Regions from separate parts of the Homo sapiens genome. Here regions 1 and 3 are each linked to region 2. Evidence: promoter capture Hi-C in 16 types of primary human blood cells and fetal thymus (Javierre and others, 2016). All regions are on one chromosome and are shown on one strand. The core of a region is centred on a gene start or on the middle of the fragment in contact, and the rest is flanking DNA. Distances in the headings are between cores, read along the strand shown. Region 1 overlaps LOC105372896 (a long non-coding RNA gene). Region 2 holds the start of PLXNA2 (plexin A2). Region 3 has its middle 140 kb from the start of LINC01696.

What was found. Contacts are between HindIII fragments. The CHiCAGO score rates a contact against its expected background, and 5 or more counts as called.
Region 1: a fragment that was not itself captured here is called in contact with the fragment with the promoter of PLXNA2 in region 2 in 1 of 17 cell types (endothelial precursors); the score reaches 6.4 in endothelial precursors.
Region 3: a contact is called between a fragment that was not itself captured here and the fragment with the promoter of PLXNA2 in region 2, in 1 of 17 cell types (endothelial precursors). The highest score is 5.2, in endothelial precursors.

What each region holds. Positions count from the first base shown.
Region 1 is chr1:209,211,553-209,214,252 of GRCh38, reverse strand. LOC105372896 (a long non-coding RNA gene) reads left to right here. Exons shown (of 5, transcript XR_922530.4): 5 at 2,367-2,700. Among named protein-coding and RNA genes, the nearest start is that of LINC01696, 110 kb to the left of the region's middle. The HindIII fragment of the contact is 1,347 bases long and covers 746-2,092 here.
Region 2 is chr1:208,243,008-208,245,707 of GRCh38, reverse strand. PLXNA2 (plexin A2) reads left to right here and starts at 1,324. Exons shown (of 32, transcript NM_025179.4): 1 at 1,324-2,065. RefSeq lists a silencer at 1,207-1,266 and enhancers at 1,785-2,284, 2,285-2,700. The HindIII fragment of the contact is 7,265 bases long and covers 303-2,700 here.
Region 3 is chr1:209,188,797-209,191,496 of GRCh38, reverse strand. No RefSeq gene overlaps it. Among named protein-coding and RNA genes, the nearest start is that of LINC01696, 140 kb to the left of the region's middle. RefSeq lists an enhancer at 793-902. The HindIII fragment of the contact is 1,184 bases long and covers 780-1,963 here.

The DNA of each region.
Region 1 (2,700 bases), core at 170-2,669, 970 kb before region 2:
CAGCAAGGAAACAATCAACAGAATGAAGAGAAAACCTGTTGAATGGAAGAAAATATTTGCAAACTATTCATCCAACAAGGAACTAATATTGAGAATTCATAAGGAACTCAAACAACTCAATCAACAGTGAAAAAAAGATCCTATTAAAAAGTGGGCAAAGAACATAAATAGACAACAGGTACGTGAAGAAAATCCTCAACATCACTATGCAACAGGGAAATTCAAATCAAAACCACAATGTGATATCATCCTACCCCAAATAGAATGGCTATCATTAAAAAGACAGAAAAATACCAGATGCTGGCGAGGATGTGGAAAAAAGAGAACTCTTATACATTTTTGTTGTTAATATGAATTAGTTCAATCACTGCGGAAAACAGTATGGAGACACCTCAAAAAACTAAAAATAAAACTACCATATGATTCAGTAATCCCATTAGTGGAGAGCCATCCAAAGGAAAAGAAATCAATATATCAAAGGGATATATGTACTTACATGTTTATTGCAGCACTATTCACAATAGCAAGGACATGGAATCAATCTAAGTGTCCATTGGTGGACAAATGGATAATAAAAATGTAGCATATATACATAATAAAATGCTATTCACCCATAAAAAGAATGGAATCATGTTATTTGCAGCAACATGGATAGAACTAGAGGTCACTTTGTTAAGTAAAAAAAACCCAGGCACAAAAACACAAATTGTACATGTTCTCACTCATATGTAGGACCTAAAAAGCTTGATCACATGGAGATGGAGAATAGAATGGTAGATACAAGCGGCTGAGAAGGTTGTGAAGATAGGATGAAGAAACAAAGAAGGTTGGTGATTGAGTGCAAACTTACAGTGAGATAGAAGAAAAAAAATTTCAATATTAAACAGTCGATTAGGGTGACTGTAGTTAGCAACAACCTATTATGTATTTCAAAGTAGCTAGAACACAATCATTACACATTCTATGCATGTAAAAAACACATATACCCCATAAATACATAAAATATTATATATTAATAAAAGGAAAAACCATATTAAAAGATAGAAAAGTAAAAAGGAGATGAAAAGAGAAAGTAAAATAGCCCCTGGCTTTGGAGAACTTTTACAGTAGCAGGGGTGACATTTGAGTAGCCACGTGAGAGATCCATACAAGTAAACCAATGGAAGACAGTGTTGCAGGCAAGCAGGAATGAGCCCCACACAGGCATAGTCAGAGGGCTTCTTATAAGAAGTGGAACTGAACTGCACAGCATGGATATTCGTTGAGAGCCTCTTCAGATCAATGAAAGCATGGATAGAATTAAGATGGTTGAAGAAAGAGGGAATGAGGGCAAATGTTGGGATGCCTGGATAGAGAGTCTTCTGCCTAAGGTCAGAATCATCCTGGGCCCTGATGGACAGTGATGAGGGATCTGGAGTCCTAGATTAGAGGGGTCAGCTACAAAGCAGTTAGAGAGGAAACTCAAGGGGGCTGAGTATAAAATTTCTTGAATTCCAGGTGGGGTAATTTAGACTTGACATGTTAGATAAGGGTGAAATGTGCCTGATTATACAATAATTATTTATTACATGCTTACTTGGTGCCAGGACTGTTCTGTCTATTGGGATGAAAATGATTAAGAATGTCAGTGAGCCAGAAGGGAGGGTGTACCTCAGAGTGAGGGGAGTTTTAACTAAATGGCAGGCTGGGGAACATCGACGGATATTTCTGAGGGTGAGGATCTGGATCTACCTGGTGACTACAGGAATATAGAGGAAGAAGAAAAAATAAGAGATTATTTTTCTTCCAAAGAATGAATCAGCAGGTCTTAGTGGTAGACTGCTAAACTTGTTAAAGACCAGGAAGGAGGAATCATGTGAAATGTGTCCTTCTCTTTCTCATTTCCCTGAGCTGAGTAGCAATAACAGCAACAACAACAACAACAAACAGCTAAAAGGTAGAGGTTCCAAGCCACTAAACCTGTTATTTTATGCTATGATAACTCCCTCTACAGCAGTATCACCACACTGCATGACCCTGGGAAGCAGAGAGAAGAACTTGCAGATGTTCACTTAGTGGTACCCACTGGAACCTGAGAAACCATTTAGAAGCTTATCATCCCCTGCCCTCATGAAAGCATGTGCTGCTGCAGCCCTGCTTTTGTTTTCTAGAACAAACAGAGGAAGAGGATGGACAAGAATCCAAGATTAAGTTGTTCTTCATTCATTCAATCAATGTTTATTAAGGGTCACCTTTGTGCAAAACATCAGCAACTGTATGTACCTAAGAGCTAATGATCAAAGTTTCTAGGTGCTGCAAGATTCTGAAGACATTTGCAAATGCCTTGTGCTATAGCCATATTTGTAACCGTAGTGCTTGATCCATAGGAACATTTGATCTGGGCTTGATAAATGGACACACAGATGAAGGAAGAAACAAATGAAGTATGGCACCTATGAAGGCTGGAGGACTCAGGGACAACTCCTGGATGAGATGAGCTGTGATGAGGACACAAAGGGTAAGCAAGAGTTAGATGGACAGGATTAAAATTCTACAGGTGCATTAGAGCCACAGAAACAGAGAGGTCAGGATACATTTAGCCTCTGTAGGGGATAGGCAAAGTTGTCTAATGAATCGTTGCCTGAATTCCTTATATATACTCATATTCAGCAAACGTGGTCTATGTCTTATCTGGTCTTCCTTACAAGCCCCCATATCCCC
Region 2 (2,700 bases), core at 75-2,574:
TGAAGAACTTTTGAAGAATTCGCTGATTTCTGCAGATGTTGGAGTAAAGCCTAGATCCCCCAGTCCTGTGTTGAATGTGCGATTGTTCGAGATGACTGGTTAGTCTAGATTTCCTTTTCTTCTTCCTCTCTCTCTCTCTTTTCTCCGGCTCCCTTTCTTCATCCTTCCCTCCCTTCGTTTCTTCTGCCGCTACTGCTCTAAGAATTTGGTGCAATTGCTTTTAGGTATTCGCAGTGATTTTTGTTGTTTTTTAGATTTATACCACTGAGGACTGTGGCCACGAGAGGGCAGTAGAGGAAGCTTATCAGAATACTTGGACAGGAGTAAACTCGTGTGCGCTCTAATCGCGAGCAGGGACTACGCAGATCCTGCGAACTCGCTGGGGTCCAGCTTGCAGGCCGCTTCCGGAAAGCCGTGTCTAGAGGCTGCGGAGTTACTGAGACTGTGTGGCGAGGAATCAGTGGCCTTGAGGGCACCGAGACATTGTCATCCAGAATCCCGAAACCTCTCACCTTAGGTTATTAAAATAAGTTATCTTATTGCCACCCCTCTGATTACCCTGCCAGAAAGATTCTCTGAATTGGATATAGAAAGCTCTTCTCCCGTCCCCAATGCCCCCATGCAAGTCGGGACTTACCAGATGCCCAGGATCCCTATCAGGGCTGGAAGTTTGAGATTCAATTCAGAGCAAGGTTCATCTTCTCATTGCAATAATAATAATAACAACAACTTCAAGCCTTATTTGACAGCTTGTTGGCCTTTTTCTTTTTTTAATTTACAAGAAGAGGAAATTTGCTCCCACAAATTCCAAGACTCTAGTCTCAACCCTACCAGACAAGCCCCGTTCCTCCCCACTCACCCCTCACTCAAATTACAGATGAAGAGGGAGGTGTGCAGGATGTGTGCGGTGACAGGTGATGCGAATGGGGGGGATTCCCTGTCCCTACTGCCCTCACCCACTCTTCCTGTGTTCTGAGCTCCCCCCTAACCCCAACGCTAGACCTTCTATTCCCCCGGGGGCCAAGCCAGCTGGGCTCGCAAGGCCCGACTCGAATTCCCGGGCCCTGGCAGCATTTTCCTTGCCCCCTTGGCTACTTAAGGTGGCCGATGGGTCCGGGCTGAGCTGGGCGCAGGACAGGCAGCCGAGCGGCCTCCGGATGCCAAACCTGCTTCTCCTTTGTTGACAGCTTGCGGAGGAGGAAGTCCGCGCGGGCGGGGGAGGGGGCAGGGTGCTGGCGGTGGCGGGCGGTGCCAGCAGCGGGCGCGGCCCCAGCCCGGGCGGACGCGGCCGGCGGGGAGGGGGTTAACGCGCGCGGCCTCTATGATAATGAGCTGCATGGTGAAATAGGGAGGCCGGCGCTCAGGGCTCCTCCGCCGCCGCCGCCGCCGCCGCCGCCGCCGCCACCGCGGGAGCCAGAGCTGCCGGGAGGAGCGGCATCCGCGCCAGACTGGAGCGGGAGGGCGGCGGAGGGCAGTTGCTGGGAATTTTTCAGCCGAGAGGGCGAGCGATCCGGAGAGAGACCCCGAGAGCTTGGGAGCGGTAGGGCGTGCGAGCGCCGCAGCCAGCGGAGCAAACCTCGAAATAGATCTGGAAAGCCAGGCTCCCGGAGGAAATGGGACTGTGAACGAACCGGAGAGCAAGAAGGGAAGGAAGCGCCGGGATTGCTGATGTCAGAGGAGCCCGGAAAGTCGCGCTGGAAAAATCTGAAGACAGCCGGGGCTCTGCTTCTTCCTCAGGAGAGACACCGCCGGCCGCCCCCACACGCCCCCTCGGCGCCTCCGGGTGCCCCCTGAGAGCCGGCGACAGCGCCCAGCCGGGCTGCTGCGGGGCGACGGAGGACTGAGGGGCGCGCGGAGCGGAGACCGAGGAGCGACTTCAGGAATACAGATAAGTGTCTGGTGGCTTGACGTGGATTTTAATGAATTTGGACTCCATGTGGATTTGGTCGTCTCCCTGATTCCGAGCTGCGGGCAGGGAGAGGGGCCTCGCGCCGCCCTCAGCAGCCGGCGGCGGCCGAGGTAGACCGAGCGGGGACGGAAGGACAGACCGACGTCGCCGAGCTGGGTAAGCGGCGGCTGGGCCGGGCGCTCGGAGTCGGCAGCGCCCTCCGCCCTCTCCCCACAGGCGCGCACACCCGTGGCGGCTTCTCCCGCGCCCGCCTCTTTGGGGTCCCGGCCCCAGAAGACCCGGCTTGGCCGCGGCGGGCGAGTCCCCGCGTGGGCTCGGCCACTTTCGCGGGCTGGAGCGCGGCGTGCGCGCGATCGCAGGCTCACTGGAGCCGCTGCCTCCCGCCGAGGGCTTCCCGGCCGGCAGCCCGCCGGCTTCCCGAATGCGGGCTGAGGGCGGCAGCAGCGCTCCGCGGCGCGCCTCCACCGCGCACCTGCCGGCGCTCTGCGGCTTTGGGGAGCTCGGGGCGGCAAGGCTGTCCTGAGAGCTGGAGCCCAAAGAGGGCCTCGGTGGCACCAGCGAGACAGCCCAAAGCCACACTGGCCAGCGATCGATTTGGGGGCGTTCACTCCAGTGCCGGGGTCCCTGGTGGCCGCCGGCTCTCCCTTCCGATCGGGGACTGGAGATCAGGGGAATGGGAAAACATCATTTGCGCGGGTTCCATAAGGCTCAGGGAGAGATTCCTAGGCACTGAATGGGTCTAAGTGTTTCATCTCCCGGGGCTCCCTTTGCGGTGTATCGCCCAGCAGGGG
Region 3 (2,700 bases), core at 122-2,621, 950 kb before region 2:
ACTCAAAATCTTAGTGGCTTAATACCATAAAAGTTTATTTCTCGCTCATGTCACAGACCAAAGTCCATGTTTTTCCCTGGATGGTGTCCCATATTATAGCCCACTGTCCTCCAGGAACTTGAAATCTTTTTCATTCAGCTAGCATATGAGGAAAAAAAAAAGGAGGATGAAGTGTGGGAGTTTTTAAGAGCCTAAACAAATTCATTGTTTCTTTATATATGGCTTTTTACACATGGATTAGAATTCAATTACTGGTCATAGCTAACTGCAAGGCTGGCTGGGATGTACAGTCTAGACATAGGCTTAGGGGGAAAAAACAGGGCTGTGAGCCTCAACATGGCTCTGCCATAGTTGTTGTTAGTGTCTGTTTAGCCTCTGCACCCTGGAGACCTATCTGTCCAGAATAGTTTCTAGAATTGCTATTGTATGTGTGCTGTTGAACTTCACTGGAAAATGAATGAAGAGGAATGCAAGAATTTTAAGTGACCCGAATTCCTGGGTATACACACGGATACACAGGATACCCAGGGCTCCCCTCTGCCATGACCCCTGAGGGCGCTCTCTATGAACCAAGGAGTCCAGAAAGGAAAATCGCTGGAGGTTAGGCTTTGAATAACTCTAAGCCTTGTTCCCTTTCCCACAAAGAACTGCACAAGACCGTTGATGACACTAGAGGGCGCAGCAGGCGCCGTGCAGGAGACCACCCCCTACAAGAGTGGTGACAGCAGCAGTTAGCAGTGTTGTGAGTGGCGCCAAAGACCGTAGGTTCCTGGCAAGCTTGCCATTCCTGGCGAGACCAGCCTCCCTGAAAAGAGGGATTAAAAGCCTTCTTAAAAGAAGACTTGAAGACCCATAAACTTGGGCTGGCGTCCTTACTCAACCTCACCCATATAGAGTGAAAAATGTGGCCAAAGAAATTGGGCCTCACAGTAAGGGGTTGCCTTAATTGAGTAGATTTCTAATAGCATTTTACGGGCAGAATCTATTTCGGCTTCTTGGCTACCTTGCTAAACTATGGAGACACATTCTTTCCTGTTTGTTAGTTTTCCATCCCAGCATACATAAGAGGCTGTACATATTTGAATACCAGCTGATACTCTCTGAAATTAATTAGATGTGATTCATAGGCTAGTTTTCCTCTCCTCAAGTCAACTTTCTCACCCGTGGACTTACTACCTATTTTGTCCTACCATTTGGTGGGTAGATGTATTACGATGTCCTATCTTCTGGGCTAAAGACGGGGTGGTGCTTATTTTTGTTTATTTTTTATTTGCAACTTTATTTTTTTATTGTGGCAAGATAGACATATCTGTCATTGTAACCACTTGTAAGTGTACAGTTCACTGGCATTAAATACATGCTGTGTAACCATCAGTACTCTCTATGCAGATGAGTGATTCTTGCACAATTCTTAAAACATGGAGCTAGCAAGTTAGTTACAGTGAAGTCATTTCCATGTTTACTATGGAGCTGTGCACCAGTTGCCAGTTATGGTAAATGTCACCGTGACCTGTGCTATGGAGACCCTATGGAAAACCTGCTTCCCCAGGACCAGAGAATCTTAGCATCTGGTCTCTACTATTCCACTACCCCGCTGAGCAATTTCAACCATTAGCAAACCGAGTGAGAATAATATACTCACTTTTGATTACTGATATATAACCTGTGGATGATCTTATATTTTAATTTCTTGGATAAATTCTAGTTATTATCAAGAATATTCTAGGCTATGAAAACTTTACCCAACTTTCCCTGCAACCCAATCAGCATTCTCTCATTGGGGCTATAAATGAGTGAAATAGACCCAGAAGGAAAACGTTCTGCCAAATAAGATATAATACTGCATTCCTTCACTTACTTGGATGTGTATTGATAAGGGTTTCTCAGGGAAGTTCCTTTCTGGTGAAACTTGGGCCTTGAAATTACTTTTTCCAATTTCCAAATTCTACTCTAAGTTAAAGCTTGTGGATTTTAACTTATAACAACAGCAACGACAATAACACTAGACAGCATTTAATGAGTTTTTACTGTATGCCAAGCACTATTCTAATCTCATTTAATCATCATAGTAACATTAAGAAGCAGATGCTATTATCTATCTATCTATCTATCTATCTATCTATCTATCATCTATCATCTATCTATCTATCTATATTTTTGAGACAGAGTCTTGCTCTGCCATCCAGGCTGGAATGCAGTGGCGCGATCTTGACTCACTGCAACCTCCACCTCCCAGGTTCAAGTGATTCTCATGCCTCAGCCTTCCAAGTAGCAGGGATTACAGGCAGCTGCCACCATGCCTGGCTAATTTTTTTAAGTAGAGATGGGTTTCACCATGTTGGCTAGGCTGGTCTCAAACTCCTGACCTCAAGTGAGCCGCCCATCTCAGCTTCCCAAAGTGCTGGGATTACAGGCATGAGCTGCCACACCTGGCCTCTTTTCAGTATTTTTAAGTGAAAAAACCAAGGCACAAAGTGATTCATTCAACTGTAAGAAAGAGTTGTATTTGAATTTAGGTGCAAATGTTATATTAGATTTGGAAAGATGTGACTGGTTTTAGGGATGTAATTTGAAAGAAGCAGTGCATTCTTGGCATGAGGTCCAGCACTTGAATATCTAGCCACACCTCCTAAGGGCCATGCTTACTTCCAAGTGGCCGCTTCTCTCTGGGGGATCCTAGCACACTTGTCCATGCTAAAA